Regions from separate parts of the Homo sapiens genome. Here region 1 is linked to region 2. The links are contacts of gene promoters, found by promoter capture Hi-C in human tissues and cell types (Jung and others, 2019). All regions are on one chromosome and are shown on one strand. Each heading gives the region's core, a stretch centred on a gene start or on the middle of the fragment in contact. The rest is flanking DNA. Distances are from core to core; before and after follow the strand shown.

What was found. The method cuts DNA at HindIII sites, captures the fragments that hold promoters and counts their contacts. A contact is called where the count stands out against the background at its distance.
Region 1: a contact is called between a fragment that was not itself captured here and the fragment with the promoter of ERVV-2 in region 2, in 1 of the 25 tissues and cell types used here (lymphoblastoid cells).

The regions. Positions count from the first base shown.
Region 1 is chr19:53,095,009-53,100,818 of GRCh38, reverse strand. The region is part of intron 1 of ZNF160 (zinc finger protein 160); the gene reads left to right. Among named protein-coding and RNA genes, the nearest start is that of ZNF160, 5.5 kb to the left of the region's middle. The HindIII fragment of the contact is 5,693 bases long and covers 1,183-5,810 here.
Region 2 is chr19:53,042,218-53,047,960 of GRCh38, reverse strand. ERVV-2 (endogenous retrovirus group V member 2, envelope) reads right to left here and starts at 3,221. Exons shown (of 2, transcript NM_001191055.2): 1 at 3,003-3,221. The HindIII fragment of the contact is 12,011 bases long and covers 1-5,743 here.

The DNA of each region.
Region 1 (5,810 bases), core at 2,780-5,279, 52 kb before region 2:
TAGAGATAGGGTTTCATTATATTGGCCAGGCTGGTCTTAAACTCCTGATCTCAAGTGATCCCTCCCAAAGTGCTGGGATTACAGGCGTGAGCCACTACGCCGGCCATCAGTAGGAATTTTAGATGGTATGAATGTGTATTTGGTAAAGATATCAGTGACGCTTTTTTTTTTAACGTTAACATAAGAACCTATTAACTAATTTTTTTTTGGAGACGGAGTCTCGCTCTGTCGCCCAGGCTGGAGTGCAGTGGTGCAATCTCGGCTCACTGCAAGCTCCGCCTCCCAGGTTCATGCCATTCTCCTGCCTCAGCCTCCCAAGTAGTTGGGACTACAGGCAGCCGCCACCACGCCCGGCAAATTTTTTGTATTTTTAGTAGAGATGGGGTTTCACCATGGTAGCCAGGATGGTCTCGATCTCCTGACCTCGTGATCCACCCGCCTCAGCCTCCCAAAGTGCTGGGATTACAGGCGTGAGCCACCACGCTCGGCCAACTTATTTGTTACTAGTCAGTTTTCTTCCCTTATGTCATCTCTTAAAATAGTGACCTGTGAACTACTAAGCAGATGTCCCCCTCAAGTCCCTTTTGTCAGTTCTATTTTCTGTAAATGTGGAAAGATGGGCTGGATTGACTCAAAACCTTATTCCAGCAGAGCTTATGTGTTCATGAAAAAATTTGCTGAGAGAGCTCATCTCTATAGCTGACAGTCTTTCACTGTTTTCAACACCAATAGCCATGTTTTCACAGTTCTGCGTTTCATTAGTATGTTGTGTTTTTCTGGAAAAGAGGAATTAAATGTTTGGGATCAATGTGATAAAGCCATGAAAGGGAAGTTTCTTTTGCCCAGGTATGTGAAAGAAGATCCTGGAATTTTCCAGGGGAGGCGTGAGAAAGTCTAGTGTTGCCCATTAGCCCTTCGAGGCCGTCATAGAGTCAGATACATCTTCTAATTCAACTTGGATGACTTAGTGAAACATCTCCCCGTCTAGCCCTCAGTAAATCCACCTGCAACGTGAAGGTGAGGGACTCAGTCAATATACCTCAGTCTGGGCAATACTAATCCCCTTAATGTTTGGCAGAATTGGGTGTACATCTGTGTTTTGCAGTTCTTCTAGGAATTGGGGAGTGCCCACTGCAATTAAAAATTTAAATGGGACTCAGTCCTTTAAAATTTAAAACAAAACAAAACCAAAACCACAAGGATGGAAGCTGGGGTGTAGACTCAGAGGCAGAGAGACCATCTTTGGAGGCCTTTCTCTGCATTAGAGTTATGGCTAAATCTAAAGCAGTCATGTCAGTCCCTGGTAGGGAACCCTCCACCGGCTTCCCGTGTTCCCCAGGACAAAAGCCCAACTCCTCACTGTGGCTCCACAGCCCTGCGTCCAGGGCCCCTGCCAGTGTCCAGCCTCCTCCTGGGAGCTTGCCCTCATCTCATGACTCCCTCTGCCCTAGTCACATTTGTTTTTCTCTTTTCCCAAACATCAAAACCTTTCCTGTCTCAGTCTTTGTCCCTCCTCTTACCCTATGTCCCCAAATCATCACAGCTCTGTCCCTTTCTTCTCCTTCGGGTCTAGCCTCAGAGCTGTCTTCCACCCTCTTGCACCCCCATCTGAAATTCTCTCTGCCTGTCAGTCTCTACCACGTTACTCAGGTTTCACTGTCTCCGCATCCATCACCACATCGGACACTCTTCTGCATGGATTATTTTGAGTGTTTTGTGTCTCCATCTTGGCCACGGGACGACTGCAGCACCTGCTCTGGGGTTGTGGTTCAGATGCTGGGGCTGGGGTCGGGCTGAGGAGTCCTCAGGGAAGACCAAAAGGATAGGGCGGGTAGTGAGGATGGTCTCATATTCTGGAAATTTCATCCGTAATTGGTCTAAACTTCCTGTGGCTATTTATTCCAGTCTATGTAAGAGCAGAAGGCCTCACTGAGGCCTGAAAAGCCCCGCAGACCCTGTGTCCTCAGCCAGTGCCGAGGCGTCCCCACCGCCTTACTCCAGCTCCCGGGTCTTCCGCGCTCTACACATCACCGGGGCCCGGTGGCCATCCTGGGCAGGGGCTTTGCCTTCCAGCAGGTGATGCGCTCGCAGTCAGGGGTCCTGGATTCCCTTCAGGAAGGGTGGCGAGAAGTTCAGAAGCTAAGTGGGCCATGAAGGAGGCACTCCCTAAACAGCGGGGGAATTTTGCAGGGGACTGTGAGTGGAGAGACAAGGGGACAATGGCAGCCTCCCTCATGAGATCTGGGGCCTCTCTTTTTCTTGGACATCCTCCGCCAGCTCAATCCGGCCAATCTTCACCTGCCTTTAAACTGGATTCCATGGTGTCCCCAAATTGGGGGCAATTCCTTCCAGCATGGCCAACTTCTAGAATCTAGACTTGAGGCCCACTGTCCTGCAGATAGCAGTTTGTGTCCATTCCTGCCGCATCGCTTGTGTCCAGAGGCCTTTCAATCCAGTGTGCTTCTCAGGCTGGAAGAGAAGTAGAAAAATGGGGACAGGTGAAGAAGTCCTTAGAGGTGTGGAGTGAGGCGTGGAAGCAATGCTGAGCCTCTAGAGGAGCTGGATGAATGCTGCATGCACCTGGCCCACAGGTGACTGTGGGCTCACGGGATGTGTGGCACACTTGGAAAGAAGTCTCAGGTCTGGCTGTAGCACCTGGAAGTGGGTTTTGGGGTGGTTGTGGGGCTGCAGGATCATTTTGTAATGCCCTGATGTCTCAGCTCAGGTTACCTGGGAAACAGATGCTGACACAGAGATTTGCATGCAGGAATTTAATTCGGAAACTCATCATCACAGTGAAGAGGACTGAAGGCAGTGGAATCAGGCAGAGAAAAACATCCCGAAGTGTACTTAGAACCAAGACCTAAGCTGAGCCCAGAGGGAGCTTCAGCAGCAGGAGGATGGGCGCCTTGGCCTGAGGGTGTGGATCCCAGAGCTGCTCCACAGCATCCGCTCCACGGGGTGATTTCTGTGGAGGCTTTGGGAAGTGCAAAAACCATCCTGAAACCCATAGAGGAAAGATAGGAAGAATCTCAGAGATTATTTTCTGGGTTGCCTTTGGCATTCGGGGTATTTTCAGTTGCAGATCAATAAGCTTTCAGTTGTGTTTTGGAAGATGAAATGATCATTTGGAGTGTTTCCTTTCCTGATGTTGGGGTCTAATTGCATCATTAGAGACATCTCTGTTTTATTGGTAGGTTTCAGTGGTATTCCCCTGTGGGGTGGAGTCACTATGAGTGGAAATACGTTGCCCTGGGTCAGTGAGTTCCTGGGGTGTTTGTGTATATTATTCCATGAGTTACTGGGGCTTGTGAGATTTCATAACAGGGCTTCTGGATCTTTATGAAGTATCTGGGGATTGTGGGATCTTTATGAAGTATATGGGGAGTGTGGGAGTTTGTAAGCGTGTCTGAGTCCAGAGGGCAACGGGGATCCTAAGAATCAGGCGCAGATGGCTTTCATTAGGGAGGGTTTGTTGTGGGGGCGTCTGTGGGTGCAACTCAAGAGGGAGTGATTATCAGGGTCCCAGAGTAAGGGAAAGATTTCTCCAAGAATCAGAGTGAAACACAGCACACTGACCTGCGGCCCAAAGGCTTCCACTGGGACTGTCCTTGGGAAGATAAAGCTGCCACATTCTTGCAGCCAGGCCGGTGGCCTCTCCCTGTTTATTCCAAGATAACAGAGTCACAGAGTCACAAGGCAGCTGGGGAGCTGAGGGGCAAGGTCCTTGAAACCCGCTGTGGAACATGGACCTTTCTCCAGTGCAGAGGGGCCACGGGGCCCTGGGAAGGGAGTTGGAGGGTTACAGCCCTGGTCATGGCAGGGAGACGCAGGAACTGGAGGCAGGAAGAGCTGTGTTCATCCCCACAGGGTGCCCCTCCGCTCAGGAATTTGTGCAATAGAATGGGGTGAGCTAATGGGGTCACATTTAGGGAAAGGAGTCTTTCTGTCCACCCAACACACATCTCATCCTATGCACACGCTTCTCCCTTTCCCCGTTGTCCTCTCTATGATGGGAAACTAATGCTTCCCCAGGCGGGTGATTGAGGGAGAGGACGGGTTGGTCTGTTTGTCTCTCTCCTTTCTCCCCTCCCTCAGGTCTCCTGCCTGCCTTTCTGCTGCTCTGTTCAGACTCTCACTTCCTGCAGTTCTGCAGTCAGTTTGCCCCACGCAAGACCCAAGGATCTGGGTCTGTGAATAATATTCAAGCCAACATCATTGCCAAGTGAGAAATCTTAGACCCCAGGACCTTTTTTCCATGGAGGGGCCTGGGCACAGAGACAAACTCTTCTTTTTGCAGAATTTAGGGTCTTTTATTGGCCACGTGGGTCTGCTGAGCCTCAGACAGGGATCCCATAGTCAGCCAGATGTGTTTCTGGGTGGACTTGCGCTTGCCCTTCCACAGGTTGGTAAGCAGAGTGGTCTCCATGAAGGGCCCTTGGCTCTGCCCCTCAGTTAGTCCTGCTCAGCTCCCTTCTCACGAAAAAGACCACCCCAAGGACAAACATGCAGTCCACCCCTGCATACATCAGTCTCCCAAAGTGAAGACCATAAAAATGGCCTAATATTTCATTCATTCATTCAGTTATTTATTTATTTTGAGACGGAGTCTCGTTCTGTCTCCCAGGCTGGAGTGCAGTGGTGCGATCTCAGCTCACTGCAACCTCTGTCTCCTGAGTTCAAGCAATTCTCCTGCCTCACCCTCTGGAGTAGCTGGGACTACAGGCATGTGCCACCACTCCTGGGTCATTTTTTTGTATTTTTAGTAGAGACAGGGTTTTACCATGTTGGTCAGCTGGTCTTGAACTCCTGACTTCATATGATCTGCCCACCTCGGCCTCCCAAAGTGCTGGGATTACAAGCATAAGTCACCGCACCTGACCATATATCATTTCCTTTTAATTATTTACTTATTTAATTTTTACTACACTCCCATTTTAGCAATACTAATATTTCATTTAATGTTGCTATTATTATTTACTGTTATTGAGACAGAAGCTTTGTGTTAGACGCTGATCTCATGTAACGTGACTCTTTTATAATTGTGCTTAGGATTCCACGGGAGATGAGTGAATAAACGACTGAACATTGTGCATAAACAGACAATTTATATATTCATAAGATTAAGACATTTTGTATTCCTCATCCGTTATGCAAAGCAAAGACTAGACACTCTGGAGTCATCTCTCATGAGAACAAACCTGCGGACAGCTGGGAAGCACACCAGCCACCAACTGGGAGTATTAAAAAGAGCAATCCAGTCTCCAAATCAAGGGGAGGGTTCAAATCATAGACAAGCTGCAGAGCCACCGGGTCTCAGAGTTTCCCGCGGAAACGCTGGGACTCGCTACCAATCCCATGAGCGCACCTGGGGATTTTAACGTCTGGTGGGATGGTGGATTCCGAGTGTGGTTGGACAGGGCTGGAGTGCCCTGAAAGGCCTGAATGCTCTCCTGCCGGTGAGAAAACTGGAAGCGGATTCTGGGAGGGAGCTGTCGCCAGCGAGAGGCGGGTCTTGGATAGTGGGGAGAGGCCAGGTGGGGAGGGTGGAAGCCACCGTGAGGTGGGGTCTGGGCAATGGGAAAGGGGTGCAAGAGGGTCGTGTGGGAGGGTGGAACTGCTGTGGGCGGGGCCTGGGCAGTGGGGAGGGGGCGGGGTGAGGAGGGTGAAAGTCGCCCTGGGGTGCGGTCTGGGCAATGGGAAAGGGGTGGAAGAGGGTGGGGTGGGAGGGTGGGACTACCGTGGGGGCGGGGCCTGGGCAGTGGGGAAGGGGTGGGGTGAGAAGGGTAAAAGTCGCCCTGGGCTGGGGT
Region 2 (5,743 bases), core at 1,972-4,471:
CTGACCATTTGTGTTGGTGTTGGCAGTAAAGGTCAAGCTGGAATATGGTATTAACATTTAAGCTCCCCACCTTTGACCAAACTATATTGCAAAGGAAAATCAGTCTCTTGTTTTACAATCTGGGGATCAACCTTTTCCCAGATTCCAAGGGGATCCAGGAGGGGAATCCTGGGATATAAAGATCTGATTACCCATCTGAAAGACAAGACAAGAGAGAATGCAGGATAGAGGAAGTGTCCCTTTACCTATTTGGTGACTCATGAAGGTCAGGCATTCCAATCCTTGACCTAAATGAGGTGTCTCATGCCTCTCCCTGCAAGGGTGAAGTGTCCTTCACCTTGGAGCTCTGGAATTAGCCCTACTGTGTGCTCTGCTGTTTGCATTTCTTCCTATTGTTTTGCTCAGAAGGATTTCTTAGATTTCCTGGGATTGATGCCCAGCAGTGATGCCTTCCACTCTTCCGTGTTGGGTAAGGACGGGTGGAAGAATGTCTGCCATGAGAGTAGTTCTCTTCTCTTCTCTCATGTTCCCAGTGACCTTGGTTCTGCAGGAAGCCCAGTAGTTGTGCCCCTGCTGAATTCTGCAGAGAAGGGACTTCTAAAGTCCTTTTTTTTGAGACAGTTTCTCTCTTGTTGCCCAGGCTGGAGTGCAGTGGCGCTATCTTGGCTCACGGTAACCTCCGCCTCCTGGGTTCAAGCGATTCTTCTGCCTCAGCCTCCTGAGTAGCTGGGATTACTGGTGTCCACCACCATGCCCAGCTATTTTTGTATTTTTAGTAGAGACGGGGTTTCTTTTTTTTTTTGACATGGAGTCTCACTTTGTCACCCAGGCTGGAGTGCAGTGGCACGATCTCAGCTCACTGCAACCTCTGTGTCCAGGGTTCAAGAGATTCTTCTGCCTCAGCCGCCTGAATAGCTGGGATAACAGATCCATGCCACCAGGCCCGGCTAATTTTTTAGTAGAGACAGGGTTCCACCATATTGGCCAGGCTGGTCTCAAACTCCCGACCTCGTGATCTGCCCGCCTCAGCCTCCCAAAGTGCTGGGATTATAGGCATCAGCCACCGTGCCCAGCCGATACGGGGTTTCTCCATGTTGATCAGGCTGGTCTCGAACTCACAACCTCGGGTGACACGCCCGCCTTGGCCTCCGAAAGTGCTGGGATTACAAACGTGAGCCAATGCGCCCAGCCTAGGTCTTCTTAATACATAATGATATTGGGCTAATACTAATGATTACAGGAACGGAAAAGATGTGATATCTTCCCCCACTCTTAAAAGGTTCCTTGGGGTTTATACAGAAAAAAATGCTTGAAAAGCATAGAAGACCCCCTGGGGCTCAGAGTTAGTGAACTGGGCTGTTGATTCTGGTTTTTTAGTCCATTATATGATCACATAAACAGCAAGGGGAATGTGAGAAGCATTTTCTATCAGCTTATTCAACAAAAAGCAAAAAGGACCTGAGTACTTCACGGGTCTGTTACAATGGCCTAATGAGGTGGAGAAAGCAGTCTCCTGTGGCCCATTGGAAACCCTGGTTGTACAGAGAAACTAGGGAGTAAGGAAGTGGTCACAGGTGACCCTCTGGAAGAGCCAGGCAGTTCCATTGAGGAGTCACAGAATGAGGCATTCTTGAAGAGTAGGCAGGCGGAGAAGGACCCAATAATAAGTGAGGGATTTCTTTCTTTCTTTTTTTTTTTCAGACAGAGTTTCGCTCTTGTTGCCCAGGCTGGAGTGCAATGGTGCGATCTCGGCCCACTGCAATGGCCAGCTCCCGGGTTCAAGCGATTCTCCTGCCTCAGCCTCCCAAGTAGCTGGGATTACAAGCGTGTGCCACCACGCCCGGCTAATTTTTGTATATTTAGTAGAGATGGGGTTTCACCATGTTGGCCAGGCTGGTCTTGAACTCCTGCCCTCAGGTGATCCACCCCCCTCAACCTCTCAGAGTGCTGAGATTACAGGCATGAGCCACCGTGCCCGGCCAAAATGAGGGATTTCTTTAAGCAGGCATCCTCCCAGTGCCGGTCCCTCCAGTGAAACAGGAGGCAAGGGAAAGGACAAAGCTGAGTCTCATTTCTGAGGAAAAAAGTATAAACATCAGCATAGGCCCTCAAAGGACTCTGGCGCCTGAGTGAAGCAAACGCAGCAGGTCCTGGATAAACAGGCCCTGCAAGAGGCTTGCACCCGCAGGAAGAATTCATGAAATCCCTGCGGCGAGGAGAGGGACAGCAAAGAGTAAGCAGAGTGACCTGGGAGATTAATCAACGGTGGGGGCATATGGTGTTCAGGGGAGTGAACGGCCATGAATGGCAAGTATAAGAGCTGACTTAACACCGGATTGTAGTTTTAATTAAAAGATATGCGCCGGTCGCAGTGGCTCACGCCCGTAATCCCAGCAGTTTGGGAGGCCGAGGTGGGCGGATCACGAGGTCAGGAGTTCGAGACCAGCCTGGCCAATATGGTGAAACTCTGTCTCTACTAAAAATACAAAAATTAGCCGGGCATGGTGGCACACGCCTGTAGTCCCTGCTACTCGGGAGGCTGAGGCAGAAGAATCGCTTGAACCCGGGAGGTGGAGGTTGCAGTGAGCCGAGATCACACCACTGCGCTCCAGCCTGGGCGACAGAGTGAGACTCTGTCCTCCCCCCCACAAAAAAAAATATGAAGCTCCCCAGTCACTGCACAGCCAGGCGTATTCCCTGCCACCTTCACAAGCCTCCTGCAAGAAGGGTCACCATGTGTCTCAGATCTACTCACTGTGGAGTTTAAATCCTCCCTCCTCTGCTTATCACCCCTCAGGGTGAGCTGAGAAATCAGCCAGAGGGAGCAGAGTGACAGTGGCTGAAGGGAAATGGTACTGGGCAGTCGTTAGTGAACAGAGCCTGAGAGGAAAAACCCCTCCCCTTAAAGCTGCCAGATCTGCATTAGGGCAGGAGGTTCTTCAGTGCAGAAAGAAGCAGAGGTCGTCAACCAGAGAATCTGGCACCAGCTTTTTGGTACTTACCTGGATAACCAGGCGAGGTAACCAGGTAACCAGGTGAAAACACCAGATGTTACCCAGAGGGGTGTGGAAGTCCTCTGGTTCTTGGTCTTCTTGGATTCAGTCAAGAGATGCGCAGAAAGAGTTAAAGGGTAAATGCCCTTCATTTAAAGAGACAGGAGCTCAGAAAGAAGCGACACCCTGAACGACAGAACCGAGTGGGCTCCTGAAAAGAAGGAGTCTGTCCTTACTTATGCTGGCCTGACCCTTTTAATGAGAACCTGACATGATTATTCATGAAGGGGCCGTGCACAGCCATTATTAGTAAGCATGTTCTGGGAAGTCATTTGGGCAGGAATGTGCTGTGACTGTCCATGCACACATCACATATCTCCTTAGCATCTCAAATCTCCACCCAGGGGTGTGGCTTTTTTTTTTTTTTTTTTGAGACGGAGTCTCACTCTGTCGCCCAGGCTGGAGTGCGGTGGCGCTATCTCGGCTCACTGCAAGCTCCGCCTCCCGGGTTCACGCCATTCTCCTGCCTCAGCCTCCTGAGTAGCTGGGACCACAGGTGCCTGCCACCACGCCCAGCTAATTTTTTTTTTGTATTTTTAGTAGAGACGGGATTTCACCGTGTTAGCCAGGATGGTCTGGATCTCCTGACCTCGTGATCCACCTGCCTCGGCCTCCCAAAGTGCTGGGATTACAGGCATGAGCCACCGCACCCAGCCCTTATTTATTTTTTTCTAAAATCATATTTGAAAAAAGGGGATGTGTTTCTTAGTATTATAATGAGCAAAAGGCCATTCTAGGATGAATTATTAGAGGAGTGTGCACGCTCCTTAATAGGGAAAATCCCCTAGCTGGGTTATTTCTGGCTAGGGCCAGATAACTCCCTTCCTGGGCCAGACAAGTCCAGCCACAAGGACAGGTGTAGGCAATGTAGCCACTGTCCTGCTTTTGCTGTCAAAAGGGGATTGTCAGTGGGCTGTGTTTCTTAAGATTCCTTTCCCAGGGGCTCCTTTAACTGCTCATGCCTGGCTACCTACCTACTCCAAGCTGGTTTGTGGACAGAAATACTTTATTTATTTATTTTTTGTAAAGGTGTCTCACTCTGTCACCCAGGCTGGAGTGCAGTGGCGTGATCTCGGCTCACTGCAACCTCCAGCTCCCTGGTTCAAGCGATTCTCCTGCCTCACCCTCCCGAGTAGCTGGGATTATAGCCACATGCCACCACGCCCAGCTAGTTTTTGTATTTTTAGTAGAGATGGGGTTTCACCACTTTGGCCAGGATGGCCTTGATCTCCTGACCTCATGATCTGCCTGCCTCAGCCTCCTAAAGTGATGGGATTACAGGCATGAGCCACTGAGCCTGGCGCTAGAAAGACTTTTAAAGTAGTATCTAGTTCATCCACATTTGTATGTTTCTTCTATTCAATCTGAATGCAAATTTACCTGAAGGTTTTCCCCTGAGATCACAGAGAACAACTTTCTTCACCTTAATTTTATTTTCAGCTGGGCATGGTGGTGCACACCTGTAATCCCAACACACTGGGAGGCTGACACAGGCGGATCACTTGAGTTCAGAAGTTTGGGACCAGCCTGGGCAACGTGACAAAACCCTATGTCTACAAAAAATACAAAAAAATTAGCTGGGCATAGTGTCGTGACCCTCTAGTCCCAGCTATTGAGGAGGCTGAGCTGGGAGGATGGCTTGAGCCCAGGAGGTGGAGGGTACAGTGAGCTGTGATCATGCCACTGCACTCCAGCCTAGGGGACAGAGTGAGACCCTGTCTCAAAAACAAACAAAAAACAAAAAAACCCAATCAACATAAGTTTATTCTCATTAGGTTATTTCTCTGATCACAAGAGAAAATGTCTCTGAATTACCTTCCTTTGTCAGGGCTCAGCTGGTACCAAAAAGGATGTCAAGAAAATTTAGATTGAGGTCGGGCGCATGCCTGTAATCCCAGCACTTTGGGAGGCCAATGTGGGTGGATCACGAGGTCAGGAGATCGAGACCATCCTGGCTAACACGGTGAAACCCTGTCTCTACTAAATATACAAAAAATTAGCCGGGCGAGGTGGCAGGCGCCTGTAGTCCCAGCTACTCGGGAGGCTGAGGCAGGAGAATGGCGTGAACCTGGGAGGCGGAGCTTGCAGTGAGCCGAGATCGCGCCACTGCACTCCAGCCTGGGCAATGCAGCAAGACTCTGTCTCAAAAAAAAAAAAAAGAAAATTTAGATTAATATGAGAATGTGACATGGATCTGACATATAAATTAGTGTTTTTATTGTCAAATTGTGACCAAATAATTCATGAAGCTGTGAGAATATGTTTTCCCATGATCAGCAGAAAAATGTATAAGGGAACACTATTTTTCTTAATATGACCCTAGCTTTCTGCTTAATTCGACAGTTACAGAGACCCTTGAAGTTAGAAATGTAGAGCCATATCTTCCAACAAGAACTGATCAGTGTCTTGCATGTGATCGAAATGAATACCACACAGCCGAAATGCACATTGAGGACCCTTCAATGTCATTCAAAAACTGAGGTAAGGAGCAAAGTTTGCTATTGTTCTTATTACTTTTAGTTCTGTTTTTCAAGTAGAACACATGTATTTATTATTTTTTAAAATCTTTGTTTGGGCCGGGCGTGGTGGCTCACGCCTGTAATCCCAGCACTTTGGGAGGCTGAGGCGGGCAGATCACGAGGTCAGGAGATCGAAACCATCCTGGCTAACACGGTGAAACCCTGTCTCTA